Linked DNA regions of Homo sapiens: regions 1, 2 and 3 are each linked to region 4. Evidence: promoter capture Hi-C in 16 types of primary human blood cells and fetal thymus (Javierre and others, 2016). All regions are on one chromosome and are shown on one strand. Each heading gives the region's core, a stretch centred on a gene start or on the middle of the fragment in contact. The rest is flanking DNA. Distances are from core to core; before and after follow the strand shown. Region 1 overlaps HNRNPD (heterogeneous nuclear ribonucleoprotein D). Region 2 overlaps HELQ (helicase, POLQ like). Region 3 holds the start of LOC105377308 (a long non-coding RNA gene). Region 4 holds the start of THAP9 (THAP domain containing 9).

What was found. The method cuts DNA at HindIII sites, captures the fragments that hold promoters and counts their contacts. A CHiCAGO score of 5 or more calls a contact.
Region 1: a contact is called between a fragment that was not itself captured here and the fragment with the promoter of THAP9 in region 4, in 1 of 17 cell types (total CD4 T cells). The highest score is 5.2, in total CD4 T cells.
Region 2: a contact is called between a fragment that was not itself captured here and the fragment with the promoter of THAP9 in region 4, in 5 of 17 cell types (naive CD4 T cells, total B cells, naive CD8 T cells and 2 more). The highest score is 10.0, in naive CD4 T cells.
Region 3: a fragment that was not itself captured here is called in contact with the fragment with the promoter of THAP9 in region 4 in 1 of 17 cell types (fetal thymus); the score reaches 6.6 in fetal thymus.

The regions. Positions count from the first base shown.
Region 1 is chr4:82,354,470-82,358,919 of GRCh38, reverse strand. It overlaps HNRNPD (heterogeneous nuclear ribonucleoprotein D), which reads left to right. Exons shown (of 9, transcript NM_031370.3): 4 at 100-261; 5 at 1,476-1,607; 6 at 2,025-2,124; 7 at 2,237-2,383; 8 at 3,519-3,616. The coding sequence ends at 3,586. Among named protein-coding and RNA genes, the nearest start is that of HNRNPD, 17 kb to the left of the region's middle. The HindIII fragment of the contact is 1,623 bases long and covers 2,160-3,782 here.
Region 2 is chr4:83,433,868-83,438,164 of GRCh38, reverse strand. It overlaps HELQ (helicase, POLQ like), which reads left to right. Exons shown (of 18, transcript NM_133636.5): 9 at 1,068-1,307. Among named protein-coding and RNA genes, the nearest start is that of HELQ, 20 kb to the left of the region's middle. The HindIII fragment of the contact is 3,055 bases long and covers 144-3,198 here.
Region 3 is chr4:82,281,351-82,285,970 of GRCh38, reverse strand. LOC105377308 (a long non-coding RNA gene) reads left to right here and starts at 690. Exons shown (of 2, transcript XR_001741754.2): 1 at 690-843. It also overlaps the pseudogene VAMP9P. RefSeq lists silencers at 559-948, 989-1,148. The HindIII fragment of the contact is 2,033 bases long and covers 1,473-3,505 here.
Region 4 is chr4:82,897,668-82,901,984 of GRCh38, reverse strand. THAP9 (THAP domain containing 9) reads right to left here and starts at 1,250. Exons shown (of 5, transcript NM_024672.6): 1 at 1,103-1,250. The coding sequence starts at 1,182. THAP9-AS1 (THAP9 antisense RNA 1) reads left to right here and starts at 1,069. Exons shown (of 4, transcript NR_034077.1): 1 at 1,069-1,651; 2 at 1,762-1,908. SNORD144 (small nucleolar RNA, C/D box 144) reads left to right here and starts at 3,760; the gene lies at 3,760-3,845. It also overlaps a transcript of SEC31A not described here. RefSeq lists a silencer at 891-1,240 and enhancers at 766-1,285, 1,551-1,670, 1,286-1,805. The HindIII fragment of the contact is 4,998 bases long and covers 1-4,317 here.

The sequences.
Region 1 (4,450 bases), core at 1,722-4,221, 540 kb after region 4:
TGGCATTATCTGTATTTATAGTTATTTTTAAGTAAGTTAATAGTCTCTGAACTTCAGTTAAGATATATATTTTTTAAATGAAAACTTCAATTTCCTTAGGTCATGGATCAAAAAGAACATAAATTGAATGGGAAGGTGATTGATCCTAAAAGGGCCAAAGCCATGAAAACAAAAGAGCCGGTTAAAAAAATTTTTGTTGGTGGCCTTTCTCCAGATACACCTGAAGAGAAAATAAGGGAGTACTTTGGTGGTTTTGGTGAGGTATGTTATAAATGTTTTGACCCAGTTTATGTCAAAATTAGTGTGAATGTGATTGTCCCATTATGGACTCAGAGTCACTTGGCTTTTCAAAGCTGTTAGGGTAGATTATGTGATCTGTTTTGGAATAAGGATATTGTAAATACTTCATTAGCAGGTCTTTGAAGGTTGGATAATGTGTTTTTCTCATTGAGCACCTACTCTATGCAGAGTATTGCTGGGGTAGAGTATACAAAGATGAAATAGACAAACATTCTTAAATACAGACAATTAAGAGGAAGAAATCTAGATTAGAAGGAGACTTTTGTTGAAAATAGGAAAGGAATTAAGAATAGGGTGTAGTGCCTTATCAGTTGAAATGCATGTGTAAGTGCAAATTTAATGAGACTAATCATTATAGACTCATTAGTGAGGCTGGACGCGATGGCTCATGCCTGTAGTAATCCCAGCACTTGGGAGGCCGAAGTGGGTGGATTACTGGAGACCAGGAGATGAAGACCATCCTGGACAACATAGTGGGACCCCGTCTCAATTAAAAGTAAAACAAACTTAGACTCATTAGTGAAATAGGTAGATAATAGAGGTTTCTTTTATGAATTAATGAAAGTTGAGAAATTTGTGGCCTTGGGCTCCAGATACGTCCCACAGACATTTATTGCTTGATTGAAACAATAAGTGCTTTTTTAGTGTTGAGGATTTGAGATATTGCCCACAAAACTCAGTATCTAGCTTTTTAAAAAATACTTGCAAGAGCACGCAACATGGGAACTGACGCTGCCCTCCTGTACGGCAGCATCTCTCAAACTGAGTAGTAGCTTCCATCTTGGTTTGGGCATATGCTCTCCAGTTTTTAGTAGTCCTCACCACCCTACTTCCTGTTTTCTCTCAAATACATTTTTATTCTGTTTTTCTTAGATTTGACTGTTTTCTTCTTGTTCTTTGTGGGCATTTGAATTTGTGACCCTTGAGTTAGGTAGTAAATGTCAGTGCGTGGTAAAGCTTATTTTTGTAAATAGTTGTGAAGACCTTAGATGGAATGGGTGTTCTAATTTGAAGAATTCCTTAAAAGGATTAGAATAAATAGGGAGAAACAGGAGACTAGAACTTCAGTGCCAAATACATGTTTTCTTTGTGTGTTTTCCCCCCTCTAAACTTGTGTTTCTTTTAAGGTCAATAAAATGCATGTTAGCATATTAAAATTTGTTTTTTAATACCAGGTGGAATCCATAGAGCTCCCCATGGACAACAAGACCAATAAGAGGCGTGGGTTCTGCTTTATTACCTTTAAGGAAGAAGAACCAGTGAAGAAGATAATGGAAAAGAAATACCACAATGTTGGTCTTAGTAAAGTAAGTTAAGCATCCATTTACTTGTAGAGAAAACTAGCTGTTGTAAAGAGCTTAACCATTTATCTTTCTCTGTAAAGGCTTAAGTTCTTTGCATGCTTTAAAAACTTCTCATTGGTTACTTACCATTGACCAACTTTTTGTGGGGAGCAGGATGGACACATTTGTTAGTGTTTTTGTCTAGGCTTTCACAAAAATAGTTTTTAGAACTTGACAAGTAAAATGAAGTAACATCACTAGCAAGTACTCATAAGTGATTACTCTTAAGTACTAAATATTGGTTTAATTAATAAACTGACTGAGGAAAGTTTCAAATTAGCCTACTCTATTTAAACATGTTGGCTATTCTGGTTATTAGAAACTTATTTAGCAACTTTTATTTTCTTGAGTCAGTTTAATAATGTAATTTTTCTCTTTTAGTGTGAAATAAAAGTAGCCATGTCGAAGGAACAATATCAGCAACAGCAACAGTGGGGATCTAGAGGAGGATTTGCAGGAAGAGCTCGTGGAAGAGGTGGTGGTAAGCTAGAGCCTAAGTTTACTCTATCTTAAGCTTTTCTGCTTTTTAATTATCCTGAAGTAAAGATCTTTGCTGATCTTCTGACTTTAGTGAACCTATTAATGTGCTGCAGGCCCCAGTCAAAACTGGAACCAGGGATATAGTAACTATTGGAATCAAGGCTATGGCAACTATGGATATAACAGCCAAGGTTACGGTGGTTATGGAGGATATGACTACACTGGTTACAACAACTACTATGGATATGGTGATTATAGCAGTAAGTACTATACTTTTTATATTAACTGCTATTTGACATTTATTTTGTACAAATTTGGATAGGCAGAAAGGTTAGTGTAGCCTTGCCAAGTGCAAATGTCTTCAGGTTTCAAATTCCTGGAAACTTGAAACTGCAGCCATTTTATTGCTTGGTTCCTCCCAGCCTATATCACACACACATTATAAGGGTAGGGTGTATGTGTGGTTCTATATATGTTTGCTGGGCATTTGTTTTACTTGGATTTAAAAATTTTAAGCTCAGTTCAGATCTTTTAAGCTCAAGGTATTCTAAATGTCACTTCTTGGACCAACCAATAATCTTGGCATGATGTGTCTTAATCCTATAAAACTGAATAATACCACATGTTGCCAGTTAAAACTAATAGTATCCTCGCTTTAGGATTATTAATGTAGAAACTCTTAAAACAGATGTTGAGCTTGATAGAACCAAAAAACTTGACTTTTAGACATGGAAAGCCCTGACTTCATTGTGCAACTAAGGTAGTTGCTCTCCACCTGATTTGTAGCAACTGTTGAGTCGTCAGGTAAAGGGTTCTACTAGAAGCAATCTTACATTTTTTTGGAGGAGAGTGGTTGCATTGGTTGCATTGTTTTAAGTGGTTTTTCTTTTCCTTCCTTGGTTAGACCAGTTCTTGGAGTTATATCCTTTCTTAGGTGACTAGGCCTGCTGCACAATAATAGGTTAATTAAAGTCAGAAGAAGGTCAGCAAAGATGGATTGGGTGAGATTGGGGCCCTTTTCTTAGAAGGGCAGAGATACTAAGCACTGATTGTGGTTGACAATTTGTTCTAAATTTTAAGATATTTTTTGCTGGTGGTTGTGAAAGGGTCAGCTGTCCATCCTTTGAAACTTAAAACTTTTAAACTGTAAGGGTGAGGGGATTGTCTCCCATTTTATACAATAAGTCAAGTAATCAGCTCATTCTGAATGCCTGCCATTGTATGCATTCACTACATATTTGGTAAATTATTTGATAAATGATTGCTCAGGGTGAATTTTTCACACTTGGGAATTAAGCTACCCTTAATTTTTTGAGATTGTTTAAAATTAGGTACTGTTCTGATTATTAGTATGTAACCACTACCGTTCTGGTTCTAACACTTGTTTTATTTTAGACCAGCAGAGTGGTTATGGGAAGGTATCCAGGCGAGGTGGTCATCAAAATAGCTACAAACCATACTAAATTATTCCATTTGCAACTTATCCCCAACAGGTATGTTCTAAAAATAGTTTTTTTTTGTCATTTACAATAGTAGTTTTTATAATCTATATTGTTCATAAAACAATGCTTAATTTAAGAGTTTCACAGCACCCAGAAGTGCTTACCATATTATAACATAGTGACTTTCAAAGATATGTAACACAGGTGCTCTTAAGCTTTTGCCTTTTTGTCCTATTATTAACAAGTCAGTAAAGTTAACAGGTAAAGTACTGCTAATGGGTACAAATTAAGGAATTGCAGCAAAAAAGTATTGCCTACTAACTCTGACATTATACCTTGTTTGTACCCGCCAGCGGGAACTTCATTGCAGGCCCTGTGTCGCGCTGACTTCACGATTCTCACAGGCCCGCTCAATGCGGACAGGGTACGAGATGCTCACGCTCTCGAATGCTGCCGTTTGGTATGGTCTCTTCCAACATCCTGTATCAGCATTATAAAATAAAATGGATACTTCAAGCTTTGCCTTCACTTATTTCTTTGCTTTTTAAAAACTATTTGTAATGTAATTTTAATGCATTTTTTACAGGCCCAGTAATGGTTAAATACGTCAGCTTACTGAATAATTTTAACTATTTATTCTTCTAAGGATACAGCTTGTCTCTGGATTTTCCAGTCTTAATTTTATATTTTATTAATCTATTTTAATGCTTGCTTTTCCCATTTATAGACGTTGTAGCAGTAATTGCAAGAAGTTCTTGAGCTGAATTCCTGTTGTGACAACTTCCTATAATTACAGTAGATAACTTTTTCTTTTAGTCGTATATAACTTTTCTATAACTTGTGATGGACAAGAGATATGCTTATCCAATAAAATAAGCTTAAATA
Region 2 (4,297 bases), core at 422-2,921, 540 kb before region 4:
TCTTTCAATCCTACTATCATGGATTGGTCTAAGATAGACTTAAATTTATTGAATAGCAAAATATAAAAATGTTTGGAATAAGATGAAGGAGTTGCTCATTTTGGTAACAGTCTGCTTTTACAATGATTTTGATTATAAAAGCTTAAGGAAATTAAATTATCATTAAAAAAATTCTCAGTAAATCATTCATTTTCTTAGAGTAATTCAAGGTAATAAGATGGAGACACTGGCTAAGTGATGGAAACATTGTAGGATGTGAAGTTTCTAAAGTGCAAGTGTTTAGGCAGTGTTTTACCATGGAAGTATGATTTAATAATATGTATGTTTCCATCTTCAGAAAAGAAAATTTATGTCTTTAAAAAAACTATCCCCTATAAAGATATATGTTATAAAGAAAAAAACAGTTATAACATCCAGAGCAAAGGTCTAAACCTGGTGTCCATGGATTCAAAGGAAGTACAGGAATGAATTTTAGGAAATCCACGAACCCTCTGAAATTATATGTAAAGTGTTGTATTTATGTAAATAGTTATATTTTTCCTTTTTTTTTTTTTTTTTTTTAGACAAGGCTTTGCTCTTTCACCCAGGCTGGTAGGTTCATAGCTCATTGCAACCTCAAACTCCCGGGTTCAAGCAATCATCCCACCTCATCCTCCCCCATAGCCTGGAACTGCAGGTGCATGCACCACCATGCCCGGCTAATTTTTGTTATTTTTTGTAGAGGTGGTCTTGCTTCACTGCCCAAGCTGATCTTGAACTCTTGGGCTCAAGCAATCCTTCTGCCTCTACCTCCCAAAGTGCTGAGATTACAGGCATGAGCCATCGCATTTCGCCTTTCCTTAGTTTTGATAAGATTTTCACAGGGTTCTGTAATCCACAAAAAGATTGAGAGACTGCCTAATAGTTAATGAAGTCAGAATCAAAATTCTAAGAACATTTAATGTACTTAACTCAATGGAAATAGTACATTAAAGAATGTTTACATTAGCATCTACTAAAATGAAAATGGTAGAAATTTTGTCACTAAAAGATCAAGGGCTCATATTTCTAACAGATCTTTTTCATAGGGAATATCTGAAACATAAGGAGAAAGAAAAATGTGAGGTGATTAAGAACTTGAAGAATATTGGCAATGGCAACCTGTGTCCTGTTTTAAAGCGCACTATCCCATTTGGAGTTGCCTATCACCACAGTGGCTTAACAAGTGATGAAAGGAAACTCTTGGAGGAGGCCTACTCCACAGGAGTGCTCTGTCTTTTTACCTGCACATCTACCCTAGCGGCAGGTGTCAACCTACCAGCTCGAAGGTAAGAGATAAGTAAGTGTTGACCAGGCTCAGAACTTTTCCATTTCTAGCTTGCGAGGAGTTTTGTTGTTTTATGCTTTCTCAGTAGTGGATGAGAATTTATCAAATGTTCTTTTAGCATATGCTGAGTTGATTGGTTGGTTTATTTTCTTTAATATTTTAATGAATATGTAATGAAATATGTAATGAAAAATAACGTTAATAGATTTCTTGATATTAGAATTCCATCCTTTCTGCTCTTTATATCTGGTTTTGATGTTAGGGTCTATTAATCTGGTTTTGTAGAAATAGTTGGCAAGTGTTTTACCTTTTTTATGATATGAAAGAGTTTATTTAACATAGAGATTTCCTTGAAATCTTGGAGAGCTGATCCATAGGCAATTTGTGTCTAATATATGTATTTTAAAGCAGGCCCTTGATTACCTTTCCAGTTATTACCAAAGGTGTAGGCCTGTGTAATTGACTTCTCCCCTTTATAATTTATGATCATGGGGTATTTTGCTAATAAATGATCAATTTTTATAAACTTTCCATGAGTGTTTAAAAAAATATGTATTTTCAGTTGAATATGCAGTTTTGTACATCTCAGCGAGATCACAGAGGTTCATTGTGTTATCGGCTTCTCTATTTTCTTACTATATTTGATTCCTTGGTCTATCAATTTCAGAGAAGTGTGTTAGTCTCCCACTTTAATTATGTAGTTATCAGTTTCTCCTTTTTGCATCTCTAGAAGTTATTACTTTTTATATTTCAAAACTATTTAGATATACAAAGGTTTACTTCAAATATCTTATTGCCGAATTATACCTTTTATCAATACAATAAATACTTGTTTTTCTCATTTAATAATTTTGCTTTGAATACCAGGACTCATTTTTTTTTTTTGCCACGTATGTACCTTTTTCCATTCTTTTATTTTCAATTTCTGTCTCTCATTAAGTTTTCCATTTTTCAGACAATTGAAGAAAAAAATGAAAGTTATATATCCTGTTTCTATTATTCCAGTGGTTACTCTTAAAATTTTAAGTTGTAACCAAACATTTTTTATTACTTTAGAATTAATCAATAACTGTCCTCTCCTGAACATAAAAAGAGGCTTAGCATGTCCTTAGTATATTCTACTCTGCCCCATGAATGTTGCAATTACTTAGAATTTTAGTGCCAGATTTAAACATTTTCTTTCATCTTATGTAGTATTTAAACTTACCTGTAAATCATACTTCTTTTTTGCTTACCACTGCCTCTTATATCCCACATCTTTCTTCTCTGATTTTTTTTTTTTTAATTTTGCCTTCCTTGAGTAATCCTTTTTAGAATACCGCTTTAGGGGGTAAAACATTTTGACTCTTTGCATAGTTGAAGATATCTGTATTTTGGCCTCACACTTTTACACTTCACTAGCAAAAGAATTCTAGATTCAATTTTTTTCCTTTAGGGATTTTGTAAATATTGTTCCATATTTTCTAGAGGCCAATGTTGCTCATTTTTGTCTCTGCATGGATTTTCTGTTTTTCTTTTCCAGAAACTTTTAGACTTTTCTCTTTAACCTCCCAATTTTGTCATGGTGTATAATAATAGTTGTAATTACTACATTCCCCTCCCTTTCATGTAGTAACAACTTTACATGCATTGACTTGATACAGCTTCACAATAACTCTGTGAGGAAGGTCATATTTTATTACACACCTATTATAGAAGGGGAAACTGAGGCACTAAATAATTAAATAATTTTCCCAACTTTAAAAAGTTACATAACTTTTTCCCAACTCATTTTCCAACAAATGAGTTTTAAAGCCAGTGTTTGAACCCAGGAAGTTTGATTTTACAATCCCAACAGTACTACTTTTCATTCATAGGGCTTAGCACTTGGGTGGATGCTTTTAATCTAAGCTTTATGCCTTTCTTCTTTGAGTAATTTTTTTTCTGTTATTTCTTTTTCTTCCCATTATCTCTGTTCCTTGCTTTTATAATTTCACTTAGGCAGGGTTGAGGCCTCTTAGATTCAGCTTTCGTATCTCTTTTCTTACACATTTTTCAGAATGTGGAAGAATGTAAGCACACGTTTGTGCCATGTAATTTTTTTCAACTTTACCTTCCATATCAAAAAATCAGTTTTTTTGTAATCCCAGCACTTTGGGAGGCAAAGGTAGGAGGATTGCTTGAGCCCAGGAGTTTGAGACCAGTCTGGACAACATAGCAAGACCTCATCTCTACTAAAAAATTAAAAACTTAGCTGGGCATGGTGGCATACACTTGTGATCCCAGCTGCTCGAGAGGCTGAGGTGGGAAGATTGCTTGAGCCCAGGACATCGAGGCTGCAGTTAGCTATGATTGTACCACTGCACTCCAGCCTGGGCAACAGTGAGACCCTGTCTCAAAAAAAAAAATGAGTTTTTAACTGATATCCATTAACTACATTAACTGTATCCATTAACTATTTTCATTCATTATTCAGTTCTTCAATTGAATTTTCTTTTTTGTGAGACAGAGTCTTACTCTGTTGCCCAGTGGCCAGGCTGGAGTGCAGTGGTGCGGTCTCGGCTCACTGCAACCTCTGTCTCCTGGGTTCAAGCGATTCTCCTGCCTCAGCCTCCCAAGTAGCTGGGATTACAGGCGCCCACCACCACACCTGGCTAATTTTTATATTTTTAGTAGAGTCGGGGTTTCGCCATGTTGGCCAGGCTGGTCTCAAACTCCTGACCTCAGGTGATCTGCCCACCGTGGCCTCCCGAAGTGCTAGATTGACAGGTGTGAGCCACCACACCTGGCCCTTCAAATTTTTTATGAATTTTTAAATAAAGTTAATTTTTTTTTATTTCTAAGAACTCTCTTTTGTTGTTCTTTCCTTATAATAGTCTACTCCTTTTTTTTTTTTTTTTGAGACAGAGTCTCGCTTTGTCTCCAGGTTGGAGTGCAGTGGCATGATATCTGCTCACTGCAACCTCTGCCTCCCGGGTTCAAGTGATTCTCCTGCCTCAGCCTCCCAAGTAG
Region 3 (4,620 bases), core at 1,240-3,739, 620 kb after region 4:
TACCTTCCACATTGTAACCAGACCAAACTTATCAGAAGGTAAATCAGATCTTGCTATTCCTCTGTTTATAAATCTTAGTTGCTCCCCAGGTTCTCTGGGATGAGAAAACAGCTGTATATAGGACCCTTCATTTGCTGTCTTCTGCCCACTTTCCTGGCCTTATCTCCAGCCTCTACACCCTCATCCTTGTGTTCCAGCCACACTGAGGTTCCTGGGAATCTGCAGACACACCATGCTCTTTTCTCTGCATGGAGTTCTCATTCCCCTTTCCTGTGCCAGGCTAGGACTAATTCTTACAAGTTTATAAGCCAAGAGCCCATCTTGAAAACTACAAGAACAATCGCAACCTACCTCCGTTGAAATACTTTTTACACTCTAGGACAATTGTCTATAGCCCTTGGATATAAAGGGGCAATGCCAGGCTCATGTTCACTGCTGAATCCGTGATATTCTTTACTCTGGGATTTTGTGACAGAGATATGTTCAATAAATGTGTGCTGAACTGCAGGTCATTTCTCCGCAGGAGAAAGACAAATTTTAGGGTCTATCAAAGTTGGACCTGGGTTCAAATAGCCACCAAACCCAGCACGTGCAGCGCCAGCTCTGTCCCCTAGGTGGCGCACGTGCGGCAGCCGCCGGGACGCCAGCCTCTCGCGGGGGCGGGGCCTCTTGCGGGGGCGGGGTCTCTCGTGGGGGCGGGATCTCTCGCGGGGCGGGAGCTTGTGTCCCCCGAGCAGGTTCCGGACCACCTCGCAGCGCCGCGTCCTTAGGGGCGGGCTCGGGGGGCACCACCCTCGAGGGGCGGAACCCGTGGGGGCGGTGGCGTGGATCCGGAGGTACCTGGTAAGAACCTCCAGTCAGTGTCAGCTCCGCTAGGACCGCTCGGCCATTAGCAATGCAGCTGTACATGATCGTCATAGCAGGCGGGCCAGTGAAGGAAAGGCTCCTCTGGACCCAACCGTCCGGGACAGCCTCGGGGCGGTGACCGGGGCGGGGCTTCGGGAGAGGGCGGTGCGTGCGCAGGCGCGAAGAGGGACTGATTGGCAGGGAGAGAGGCGGGGCCGTCTCCAGCCCTAGCGGCGCGTTTGACGGGACACGGGCGGGGTCTCTGGAGAAACCTGCTTTGGGTGGCAGCCTTTCTCCTTAAAATCATTTGTCGAGCGCCAGTGTACTTCATAGTGTTTACCTCCTTATGATTTATTCACAATCTAGAGCATGTGAAATGTAGACCTTGATTTTAAAGAAAATTAATTCATTAATCCAGGCATTTATTGAACTCCGGCTGTGCGCTAAATGCCTTAGATTCCTGGGTATGCAAGTAGGTCGGCCCCGACCTTGAAGTTGAGGAGTTCATATTCTAGTAGTGGTTACAGAGGCACAGGCGGAGAAACGCCAGTCTCAAGTGGTATGCGTGTGCTATCAGGGAAAGATGAACAAAGCTGCAGAAGATGGGATGGAGAGCTAGCAAAGCTTTAAAAGTCCTTGACTTAGAGGATGGGTTGGCGTTCTCTAAGTGGGGAGGAAAGAAAGATAGGAGAGTCTAGGCAGAGGGAATAGCTTCTGTAAAGGCTTGAAAGAAGGCAGGTGGGTTTGGGGGATGAGTGTGGCAGAGAAAAGGTGTATGAGAGAGTAGGTAGGAGGGCAGAGTGGAAGGAGTGGTAGCATGACTTTTGTTGTCTTAGACCTTGGGTGCCTTGACAATAATTTTTTAAAAGTGTGACCTTATATATTTTCATCACCAAGGTATTGTGGTAGAGTGGAAAGAGTTTGCCTTTGAAGTCAGACAAACTTAGATTCATATATGGGCATTGCCCATGTACTCCATGAGTTTATGTAACTTAATCTTTCTGAGAGTCAGTTTCCTAGTTCATAAAATGGGGGTAATTGTCAAGTTTAAATGAAATAATTATGCAAAAATATTAGCATACAGTAGTTATGCAATTGCAGTAATTTGTGATAAGTACATATTACTTTCTTGCTCCCAATGGTGTAATCTTTTTTTTTTTTTGAGACAGGGTCTAGAGTGCAGTGGCATGATCACGGCTCACTGCAACCTCCACCTTCTGGGTTGAAACGATCCTTCCACCTCAGCCTCCTGAGTAGCTGGGACCACAGGTGTGTGCCACCACGCCTGACTAATTTTTGTATTTTTAGTAGAGACGGGGTTTCACCATGTTGGCCAAACTGGTCTTGAACTCTTGACCTCAAGTGGTCCACTCTCCTTGGTCTCCTAAAGTGCTGGGATTACAGGTGTGTCACTGCGCCTGAACCCAATGGTGTAACCTTAAAGAATGACAATCAGTATCCTTCTGGGTGTCTGGGTGAAGGCAGGTAGTCAATTCCATTTCCTTTAACACAGGGTAATCAAATTGGATTTGACAAGGAAGGAGCGAAACTGGTCTGCACTATAGCTCCTGAGAAAAATGCCTTGTTGAATCATGTATCCTATATACAGGAAATCTCGAATCAGTGTGTCTTATCAGCTTGATAAGTGTGTCTGTGTTACAGGCAGGGTGACTGATTAAAACCACTGGTCACATTACTTATACCTGGGAAGAGGAAATTTGTTAACTCTGGGGTAATGCTTTTGCTTACCCCAGGGTCTTGCTTACAGTAAAAACAAACCGAATAAACCTCACCACAAATCTATCTTTTTTGAGCCCCTTCTCCCTGGTGAGCTTTCAGCACAGCAGTCATTCTAAGCCTTTAATCCTCCCCTCCAATTGCATACTGTCCCTTGTGCTTTCTTTCCTTCCTGTATGTTTTCTGTATGCTGTATTATGCCTGATAGCCAAGGCTTACTCTAGTCAATGCCAGGTTTCCTCACTTAACTCAGGATTTCTCCCTTTCCTTCTTTCCCCATGGGGTGGCATCTCTGAGTGTGGGAAACTTGGTGGAGGGAAAGAGCTTCCAATTAGTGACCTTCGTCCCTCTAAGGTGGAATCTGCAGCTAATGTTTGTTTTCTGTCTGTCTCTGATCACCAGTCACACACTCTACTTGGAACCCCAAGGCCCCTTTAGGTGCTCTGTTTCTCTTTCAGTCACTTTTTTGGTCCTCTTGGAGGCGAAGAAAAATTCCCACTGCTCCCACATGTCATTGTGAGGCTGCGGGTGGCTCCAGAGGCTGTGTCACAATATGCCCTCCTGTCGCACTCTCCTGTTGTGCTGTGTCACTGCTATCATGTGGGGAGCAGCTTTTAGACCTTACTTCATTTGGGAAGCAAGCTCTTGGATCCCCAATTTACTAGGAGTCTTCTCATCACCACACTATGTCACCCCTCACTTCCTAGAGAGGGCTCTAGCTAGTTGGAGTGCTTCCTTCTCATTCTGTCCTTCTCTGACATGTGGACATTCCAGCAAGTCTAGGTAGGGCAACTCTGACCACCCTGGGCGTTTTCCCAGTTGATGCCATGAACGTTGATTGTCTGAAACCTTTTTTTCCCCATATACTCTGTTTTCAGAGAGTTCCCAAAATCTATTTTGAAACTTTTTAGAATGAGAAGCTTTTCTGTCTTACTCTCTTCTTCCTCCATCTCTCCTTCCTCCTCCTCCATTTTTTTCATTCTCCATTTTTGTGCCAAAGAGAATAACTGAGAATGAAAACCACGGCAGGTAATATAAAATATCACAGACATTTCCACCTTTCCCTTGATAGTTTGATACAATCTTGAGGATGCAGCAGAAAGAGTGGTGAGAAGCTAGGATCCTGGGAAGGTGAAATGGGACATTTCACTGTTGTTAATTTCTTTCACAACATGCTTTTAGACTCATCAGTACTTTGACTGGTGAATACTACTATCATTGCTTTTTATTTTATTTATTTTTGAGACAGAGTCTTACTCCGTTGCCCAGGCTTGAGTGCAGTAGCACGATCTCGACTCACTGCAACCTCTGCCTCCTGGGTTAAAGTGATTCTCCTGCCTCAGCCTCCTGAATAGCTGAGATTACAAGTGTGCACCACCACACCTGGCTAATTTTGTATTTTTAGTAGAGACAGGGTTTCATCATGTTGGTCAGTCTGGTCTCGAACCCCTGACCTTAAGTGATCCGACCCCCTCAGCCTCCCGAAGTGCTGGGATTACCTGCGTGAGCCACTATGCCTGAATTATCATTGCTTTTTAGAGGTTAGCTTCCCAGAAGGAAGAGCAACTAATTTTTTAGTCATCTGACTTCTTAGGTCATTAGAGAGTTTGTAAGTGTTTTTGTCAGCTGGAGACTTTCAAGCACTCACTAATTCAAGATGAGTCTTATTAAGTATTGAAGTTCTCTCATAAAGGACTGTTTTTTTAGTTATTGTTCTTCAAAATGGAACATTTTTATAATTTTTTTATTTACGTATGTGATCACTGTAAAAATTTAGGCTGGGCACAGTGGCTGAAGCCTGTAATCCCAGCAGTTTGGGAGGCCCAGGTGGGAGAACCACCTTAGCCCAGGAGTTCAAGACCAGCCTGGACAACATGGTGAAACCCCGTCTCTACAAAAAATAGAAAAATTAGCTGGACGTGATGGTGCGCACCTGTGGTCCCGGCTACTTGGGAGGCTGAACTGGGAAAATTGTTTGAGGCTGAGAAGTCAAGGCTGCAGTGAGTCATGATCGCACTGCTGCACTCCAGCCTAGGC
Region 4 (4,317 bases), core at 1-2,500:
AAAGTCTTACGTTTTAGTTTTACAAAATTCTACAAGGCAGGTTTTTATTCCTCTTACAGAAGAAGAAACCAAGACCCAGAGCCAAGTACAGACATCAGTAAATACTCAATTAAAATTGGAATTCATGTCTCCCTAGTTTAAAACTACCTCTATCACAAGAAAAATCCCAAATCAATTATGGTCTCACATACACAATGAGTTGGTTCACACTGCTAACAATTTAGGTGGAGGAATCAGCCCTATTTAAAAAATAGAAAACAAAAAAAAAAAAAAATCAATGAATTTTATACATAGCCTACCATACATACTCTAAACTCCTTAACCTGGCATTTACATTTTTAAAATGGTTTCTCAGGTACTTTTCCACTCCTCTATATTTGCACTTTCTATCCTTTACATTTTCCCATGCCATTCCTAACTACCCTCTTCCTACCCCCCCTTTCCAACCATAAAGTTCTTTTTGATCTTTCCATAAATCTGCTCCTTTTGTCTGTGAGGATCTATTTTACCCACTTTTCTACTTGCTAGTGTACCCTGAATACTGAATGACCTATACCAGTCTGAACCATGGATATGAGTTCAGATAAGACTGATCTGAAATTCTTCCCCACTGTCGAGCCAAATGAAACTTCCCTGCCATGATCAAATCCAGCCAGAATCGGACCGGCCTTGCACAGCTCGGCTAACAGCACTTAAGAACTTGCAATGTCAGGCAGTACAGGAGAAAACTGATCTGTACTCGTGCTCAGGAAGACGCCACACACACACTTCAACCGTTGTCCTAAACTGCCTTCCCTTTCGGCCTCCTCACTTCAAATAATAAGACCATCCAATTAATGGAGGACTCCTTTCGCGTAACTCTCCTTAAAGCGGTAGGCGGTGCGAGAACCGGCTATTCAGAGGTAAACACTGGGCGGGAAGAGAGAGAATCTCAATTCTCACAGTGCCCCAATTCCGCTCCCACGCCCCGACGCTGCGCACGTCACGTCGCGTCACACACGCGGCGCGACCCACAGTGCGGCCCGGCCCCGCCCCACGCCACGCCACGGCCCGCCGGGCCCCGCAGGGAGTTCGAAGGCTTCGAGGCTGCTCCCATACGCACTGGTGGAAGGAGAGGCCGCGCTCCCGGCTGAGCACGGTGTCACGGGTGCTGCAGCCCACTGCGGAGCAACTTCGGGTCATCTTCTTGTTACGTGGGGCCCCACCTTCGGGGTTCCCGCGACAGCATGAATCACGACCACTTTAGCTCCGCCCGTTGACTCTGCGGCTACGACCTTTATTTGTCACGAAAGGCGGGCTTTAGAGGCGCGGGACTTCCACACTTCCTCTCCGAAGGCCCTGCGCCGGTGCCGTAGCCAATGACAGGCCACGTTGTGTCCCAGCAGCCAATCGGAAGGGCCTGAGCCTGAAGACGTGCATTTGACCGCTCCTCCCTCCGCGTTGGAGGCGGAATAGTGGGTTTTGCTGCAACCGGTTTATTTTCCTTCTGTTTTCACCCATTCTGGCACAATCTGGCGCCATCGTCCTTCTTGTGAGGCCAAGCCTGAAAATGCGAAGCAGAGAGGCAGGACCAAAATTGAGGCGAATCCAGGAACCTGCCAATGGGTCTCCGGGTGCGGTCTCTGAAACTGGAGGATATCGGGAGGAAAGGGTATGGAAGAGGGATAAAACACGGTGCCTTAGGTGTGTTGAAGACAGAGTCGGGCCAAAAATATATGATTTACTGAGATGCGTGTCGTGTTCTTGCGCTTTATCTTGTAGCTCTCCGATGCGGAGATAATGGGGAAGCTCTTGGCATGGTTGGCTGTAGGTATGTGATACCGGAGGAGCAGGAGTCAAATAGGATACGCCGACTTTTAATTCAAGGAACCCTTTTCTGAAACACTTTGCCACAATGAAGGAAATAAGGTAAGGTTCTTGGGGCTCCTCAGTAGTAATAGGGGCAGGGGACAAGGGGCAATTAAGTGGTTTTGGTTGGGAATGAGGCATTATGAATAGCTTTCAGGAGATAGAGCTTAGAACAATGTCTTAGTTATAAGCTCTTATGTTTGAGGAAGAGATTTCAATTTGCTTAGAGAAGGAAACGGGCCAGTGGGTTTTTGTCTCTGAGAAGGAGATCCTTAGCATACAGAAAACAGAGAAGGGTTTGCAACTTTTCCGTTTCTTTGTATAGCACACAAAAATAATTCCAAATATCCAGGCCTAACAAGATTGCTTCTTTTTCCCCTTTGTGTTTACTTTGTCCAGATTACAGCCGAAGATACATATTAAGGTATTACTTATTCACACCAGTTTTCCATTATAATATGCTTGTATCTTCTCTGAATGGAATTAATAGCTTTTGGTTATGGTTCCTTAAAAGTCACATGGCCTAAGGATAGATGGTCAAGGAACTTTGGAAAAATTGGTCCCTGGGGGATGTGCAGGGCAAATACTTTTTGGCTGTAAGGTGTGTGCAGAGAGTAAGAACTGGATTTAAATACTGTAAGTTGGTTGGGCTGTTAGAGCCTTTTCCTGCTCAACCAATTAAGACCCGAGTGAGGCTGAATAAAAATAACATTGTTTTTAGCTATCTTTAAGGAAAAAATTAGTTGCCTTATATTTTTGTAACAGTTTTACTCAGATATAATTCTCATACCACACAACTAATTGGTTTAAAGTGTACAATTCAGTGGGTTTTAGTATATGCACAGAATTGTGGAACAGTCACAATCAATATTAGAACATTTTCATCACTCCAGAAAGAAACCTCATTCTTACTAGCAGCACCTCCAAATATTCCCCCACCCCGCTCAGCAAACACTAATTTAGTTTCCGTGTGCCTCTGCCTGCTCTGTACACTTCATGTAAGTGGAATTATGAACTAATATATGGTCTTTGTGACTGGCTTCTTTCACTTGGAATGTTTTCAGAGTTCATCCATCTTATAGCACGTATCAGTACTTTATTTTTTATTGCTGAATCGTACTCCATTTTATGGATGTAGCAGATTTTGTTTATCCGTTCAACAGTTGGTGGACATTTGGGTTTTCCAATTTTTTTTTTTACTATTATGAACATTTGTGTACAAGTTTTTGTGTGGACAAATGTTTTCATTTTCCTGATTACACACCTAAGAGTGGAATTGGTGAGTCATAAGATAACTGTGTTTAGCTTCTTGAGGAAGTGCCAGATTATTTTCCCTAGTGGCTGCACCATTTTACATTCCCACCAGCAGTGGATGAGGCTGCCAGTTTCTCCACATTTTTGTGCATGTGAAGTGGCTGTCTCATCGTGGTGTTTGCCTTTTCTTAAGGACTCAAAAGTTTGCAGATACAGGCATTCACTTGCCATTTTCTTAAGGTAGAGTTGAAAGTACTGCTGCCAGTTCATCATCTGAAATGAGGGCTGTTTTCTTTCCTGTTTAATTGGATTGCAACTATTTGCCTTTCCTAAAGATGAAATAGTGTGCTTCCTACATTATTCTGACAACATTCCTTTAATTGTTAATTTCAGATGAATTTCTGAAAACTGCTTTTATCAGAACAGATTTACTTAAATGAAGGCAATAGCCGCAAGGGGTCACTGCTCTAGATATTTACTTCTGCATAGGAAATAAGTAATCCTTTATAGATGGAATTTTTTTTTCTTAGTTGTATTTTTGTATCTTTACATTTGTTTATAACTTATCTATACTTTTTTTGTTGTTGTGATTATTTTACTGTTGACATGGAAGTTCTCAATCTGATCATTTGGTTATATCATTGCTTCTTCTAGTAACTTCATATCCAGTGATTAAACCTTTTCACTGCTGTTCACATAATGAACCGTTGTGATTATTGAATACTTAAATGAGGATATGTAAGCTGTATTAAAGATAGTGTTATTTGCAAAGGCATTGACTATTGCACAAAAAATTTTAAAAGAAAATATCTCTTTTCAGGAATTGTACTCTCAGAGATGTTGAGAAAAGATACATGGGTCTTGGAAGATAATTACTCAAAATATGCAGGGAAGGTAGTATATCTTTCTATTTTAAATGTATTAAGTATTCCTGGAACTATAGCAGTGAGTTGGAAATGGAGGATTGTCCAAGTAAAAAACATTTATTAAGGCTTTAATGAAATCTACCTATTTTATGGTATATAATCTCATTAATTGTCCACTTGGAAAGAATAATAACAGATATTTATTTATTGGCCAGTTACTATGGGCCACAAATTATGCTGAGCTTTTTTTAATTTCATTTCATTTTATTTTATTTTTTGAGATGGGGTCTCACTCTGTCACCCAGGCTGGAGTGCAGTGGCGCAATCTCAGCTTATTGCAACCTCTGTC